Linked DNA regions of Homo sapiens: region 2 is linked to region 1. The links are contacts of gene promoters, found by promoter capture Hi-C in human tissues and cell types (Jung and others, 2019). All regions are on one chromosome and are shown on one strand. The core of a region is centred on a gene start or on the middle of the fragment in contact, and the rest is flanking DNA. Distances in the headings are between cores, read along the strand shown. Region 1 holds the start of RIPPLY3 (ripply transcriptional repressor 3). Region 2 overlaps PIGP (phosphatidylinositol glycan anchor biosynthesis class P).

Evidence for each region. Contacts are between HindIII fragments. The study calls those that stand out against the background at their distance.
Region 2: a contact is called between a fragment that was not itself captured here and the fragment with the promoter of RIPPLY3 in region 1, in 2 of the 25 tissues and cell types used here (lymphoblastoid cells and mesendoderm cells).

The regions. Positions count from the first base shown.
Region 1 is chr21:37,005,325-37,007,998 of GRCh38, reverse strand. RIPPLY3 (ripply transcriptional repressor 3) reads right to left here and starts at 1,297. Exons shown (of 4, transcript NM_018962.3): 1 at 1,123-1,297. The coding sequence starts at 1,226. RefSeq lists a silencer at 1,123-1,232 and an enhancer at 1,456-1,956. The HindIII fragment of the contact is 12,344 bases long and covers 1-2,674 here.
Region 2 is chr21:37,066,106-37,068,779 of GRCh38, reverse strand. It overlaps PIGP (phosphatidylinositol glycan anchor biosynthesis class P), which reads left to right. Exons shown (of 5, transcript NM_153682.3): 4 at 1,400-1,518. Among named protein-coding and RNA genes, the nearest start is that of PIGP, 5.6 kb to the left of the region's middle. The HindIII fragment of the contact is 4,734 bases long and covers 1-2,674 here.

The sequences.
Region 1 (2,674 bases), core at 48-2,547:
CTGTCATTTGTGTTTTTTCTCTCCTGCTACGTCCCCAGTTCTCTGTCTCCAGTTAAGCTTTGAGAAGGGAGGTCCCGAATCTCACACAATTATCAGGGAACCCATTAGTTGAGAGATTTCTCTCCCTGCAAATCCTGGCTGAATTGTTCAATTCGGGGTTCCCCAACTATAGCTGTCTACTTTGTCCCCGGTTAATTTCAATCACACCACCTTGGTCACGGAAGGAGATTGATTCTACAGAGATGATTTTACAGAGTTGTAGGATGAAAAACAAACAAACAAAAAAAGGGGGCTGGGCGCGGTGGCTCACACCTGTAATCCCAGCACTTTGGGAGGCTGAGGTTACTGGATCACTCGAGGTCAGGAGTTCGAGACCAGCCTGGCCAACATGGCGAAACCCAGTCTCTACTAAAAATACAAAAATTAGCCGGGCGTGGTGGCAGGCGCGTGTAATCCCTGCTACTCAGGAGGCTGAGGCAGGAAAATCGCTTGAACCCGGGAGGCGGAGGTTCCCGTGAGCCGAGATCACGCCATTGCACTCCAGCCTGGGCGACACAGTGAGACCCTGTCTCAAAAAAAAAAAAAAAAAAAAAAAAAAGAGGGAATCTTTCTCCTGCCTGGCTACCTGGCCCATCCGGCCTACCCGGTCCCTTCCCTACCTCCCTGGCTAATTTGATTTCCTACAACGTTACTGTCTTTAAAAGGGTTGGTGCCCAGGGACAGCGAACGCCGAGCCCCCAATCCAGGGACAACAGAAACGGCTACCGAGAAAGTAGCAAGGTGAGAGATTGCCTTTGCAAGGCTGGCTTAGGAGCCCGAGACTGCAGTGTCCCCGGCTGGCTAACTGAGATCTCCTCTACACGGAAGCGTCGGCCCCTTTCCTGGCCAGCTACATCCTGGGCCTCCGCACTTCAGAGCTGTGCGTTGGAACCGGAGAACTGAGCGCCCCTCCCGGGAACCCGGCTGCCGGCTCAGGAGCTTGCTTGGCGTCGCCGTCGAGCTCCGGAGCTCCGCTGGGGATCGGGGGTTCAGCAGCGCCCCAGCCTCCCGCTCGCTGCGCTCCCCGCACCGCCACCGCGCACGCCTCTCAGCGCGTCCACCGGGGCGCGGGGCCACCCTCACCTCTCCGGCCCGCGCGGTGGCGGAGGCCTCCAGGGAGCGTCCCCGGGGCAGTGACAGCCGCGCCCCCGCGCCTTCCGGGCTCCGGCCGCCGCTTCGGGCTCCATGGTGCCGGCGGAGCCCGCGCCCCTTGCTGCGGCGCCGGCCTACGAGCGCGCCTAGATCCACTCGGGCTAACGCGCTCACCTACCCGCGCGCCAGGTTTAAAAACGGGGGCGGGGCGGCGCGGGCAAGCGCTGGGAGGGGGCAGGACCCGAGGAGCTCCGTGAGGGGTGCGGAGGGGGCCGCAGGGTACGAAGGAAAAGCCCGGGTCGGAGGAGCGGAGGGGACCAGAGAAGTTCCGGGAGGGGACCAGGGAGCCGGGGATGGGGAGGAGACGAGAAAAGCTCAAGGAGGTGGCGCCGGGTGTCAAGGAGGGGGGTCCGGCAGGCCCGGGCAAGGGTGGGGACGGGACAAAGAAAAGTCGGGGAGGGGGCACCAGAGAAGGGGTGACCAGAGGATGGAGGTACCAGGGATTGGGGCCACGAGCTCGGGCTGGAGACAGCGGGAAGTGACCCAGGAACCCGGGAGAGGAAAGCGAGGCCCGCGGGCTAGGGGCGTTTCCGTCGGGCGCACTCCCTCGGGGACTGGGGGGACCTGCGCTCACCTGCTGGGCTTCCCCTGCCGGATGTGGGATGTGAGGAGTCCCGGCTTCTCCGTCCCTCTGTGGTCCCCGCGGCCTCGGGCTTTGGTCCTGTGCGAGCATCGGATTCCCTGGGTTTCCGGAGAATCTCGCTTCCACCGCCTTAGAGCGGCAGCGGGTCTTCGGGGACATCTACCGAATCCTCGGGTCCGCGTGCACCGGCCTTGCCTTCGGTGCTGGACAGTGGGCTCCCGGACGCCCCGACGCCAGGGCTCGAACCCGTGGCGAAGCGGGTGGGGTGGGGCGCGGCGACCCTTCCAGGAGACAGAAGGCCAGGAATGGAACCGAGCAAGAGGGGTGCTACGAGCGCACCCTTCCCACCGATGGCGGCCTTGGAAAGAATGCGAATTTTTAATAAAGCCTGGAGCGGCGGGCTTCTCCTTCGGTTAGCCCCAGCCAGGCTTAGAAAGGGCCTCCCGACCAGCAGAAGCGACCTTGCCCGACCCTGGGGACACTTCCCCGGGCGTCGCTGGAGCGCCGCTGCCACCATCACCAGCGCACGGCCAGGGTGGGAGAAAGCGGTTTCACACGTAGAGCACTGCGACAGAACACCGAAGGCGCTGGAGGGCCTTCAACTACCCCGGGCTCCTCAGGGGTAGTTACTTTATATAATTTAAGTTACTGTGATGGATGTTAAAAAATCGAAGAACTAGGCCAGGCGCGGTGGTTCTCACCTGTAATCCCAGCACTTTGGGAGACCGAGGCAGGTGGATGGATCACTTGAAGTCAGGAGTTCGAGATCAGTCTGGCCAATATGGTGAAACCCGTCTCTACTAAAAATAAAAAAATTAGCCGGGCGTGGTGGCAGGCTCCTGTAATCCCAGCTACTTGGGAGGCTGAGGCAGGAGAATGGCTTGAATCTGGGAGGCGGAG
Region 2 (2,674 bases), core at 64-2,563, 61 kb before region 1:
AGTTCTTTCCTGAGGAAGCTGACCAGCCCGAGAGAAAGGATCTATAATTTCTGACATTTAGAGGACCCCAGTGAAGTGGCCAAGTCTCTCAGAGTGAGGCTCACCAGTTGACCATCCCTGCCCACATACACATAGTGCTTCCAACTCACTTGTTAGCACTTCATTTTTAAATATGAATGGACTACTCTAAGTTACCAGACATTAAAAGAAAGCCTCTAGCATGAAATGAAAAAGCAGAAAATTAAAGGGAATTTGAAGGAAATAGAGATAATGCAGGAAACAGAAAAAAAAATTTAAATAACATAAAATTCTCAGAGGTAAGAAACAATTATAACTATGAAACAAGAACAGAATGCTATGCAAACAGGAAATTACTGTATTTGGAAATTGTAAACATGATAACCAAAATTAAAATTTTAATTGAAAGACTGGAAAATAAAACAAAGGTAATCTCTAGAAGTTAGAACAAAAAAAAATGAAAATATAAGAAAGTATAATCGTTAAAAATTCAAACTATTAGAAGTTCCAGAAAGAGAAAATAATAGAGAACAAATCATTTAAAAAAAAAAAAACATCTGGCCAACATCTCAAGACCCCATTTCTACAAAAAAATTAAAAATTAGCCAGGTGTGGTGGTGTGTGCCTATAGTCCCAGCTACTTGCAGGGCTGAAGTGAGCTCAGCAGATTGAGGCTAGTGATCTGTGATCATGCCGTTGCACTCCAGCCTGGGTGACAGAGGGAAATGCTTTCTCAAAAAGAAAAAAAAAACACTCAATGAAAAATAGCACTCCATGTACATAATGATACTGAGAGGCATAATAGAGTCCTATCAGAGAATTTGAGGCTCTGGTATTGGTGGATTCCTGGGAAACCAAGTGAACAGACAAAAAGATGTAATTATTCCAGAAAAAAAAAAGTTGTACAAGAAAATATATAATAATAATGTACTAAGATCCTCAGTTGCAAAATTGTTTATGTAGGTACAATTATTTCTAAAACCTGCTGCTATAATGAGAAATTGCAATGTAAGTATAGAAGAGGATAGGAGGAGGTTAATTCCTTATCTCCATATTAGGAAGCCTAGAGAAAATGTCTGTAATGGAAAAAAATGAGGAAATAGTAATATGAGCATGTTTTGTAGCAATGAGGAGGTAAGTACCAGAAGACAGCTCAAGTGCTCAAAGCATTTCTTTTTGGAGAGTGAGACCCCAGGGTTGGGATGGTGGGATAGAGGACTGCAGTTTTTCACTGTAAGCCTTGTGGAACTATTTGTCTCTTATGTACACATATTACTTTATAAAATTTAAATTTAAAAAACATGTTGGCTTTGTGACCGACTCTTGAGAATTACAACTTTTTTAAAGTGTCTATTATGTACTTTAATATTCTCTTTGGCAGATATTGGGCAGTTGCATTACCTGTCTACCTCCTTATTGCTATAGTAATTGGCTACGTGCTCTTGTTTGGGATTAACATGATGAGTACCTCTCCACTCGACTCCATCCATACAATCACAGGTAACTTTATATAAAAGGAAAGTGCTGGGGCAATGAAAGAGTGGAGTATTAGCACTTTTACCCAGAAAAGCAACAAAGAACAGGCTGCAAAACCCATGTTGGTGGTGCGCGTCTGTAATCCCAGCTACTTGGGAGGCTGAGGCAGGAGAATCACTTGAACCCAGGAGGCAGAGGTTGCAGTGAGCCAAGATCCCACCACTGTACTCCAGCTTGGGTGACAAGAGTGAAACTCCATCCTAAAAGAAAACACACACACACACACACACACACACACACACACACACACACACGGACAGTAAAAAGAAGCTACTAAGAGAAATAAATACAAACTTATATAAAAGGAAATATTTGCATGAAGGAATTAAGTTCTGATGAATACACACTAGCTATATTCATGGAGGAAATAAATTATAATTAATTATAGCACTGGTTAGCAGGTGTATGTTCCCATAAAAACCACAAGTATATGCTATATGTGTCTATAATATGTTCCCATTAACTTTGCCTGAGAGAAGCTTATCCTGAACAGACACCGTTGATCAAGGGATAGTAAATAGTACATGCAGACCTTGTTCAGAAAAAGGACTTTGGGGGTGTGTATCCTCCTCAGGATCATTGTGTACTCCTTATTCCAATTAAGTGGATAAAAGAGCCACAACACGTTCGTCTGGTTTTATTTTTTTAAAGTTCTTTCAAGTCTAAAGATGAAAATAAATCAGACTCCTGAGCTTGCTTAAATTCTAGAAAGTAAAGTATTTTTTAAGTTCCCTGGTATGATTTTTCAACTTTTCAAAACCTTTATATATTAGCCTCTACAATGTATTTTGAAAATCAATTCTATTATTTTTAAGTGTCTTTCTAATACACTGCATTCCATGCATTCTTGATTGGAATTGGCAGCAAATAGGTAATTTGTGCAAAGAGGGGAAATTGTTAAGATTGCATGAATATTTATACCAAATGATTTAATAGTTTTGCCATGTTGATTTAAATACATTTTCAAGGCCTGGATATAATTCTGTTCCCGTGAGAAATGTGCAAATGAGACTTTAATCATCATTGTATGGTTGATTAAAATATTGATTTCTTTCCAAGTTAGAGATGAAAAAAGTACTTTACTGATGTTTTTATTTTTTTATTTTTATTTATTTATTTA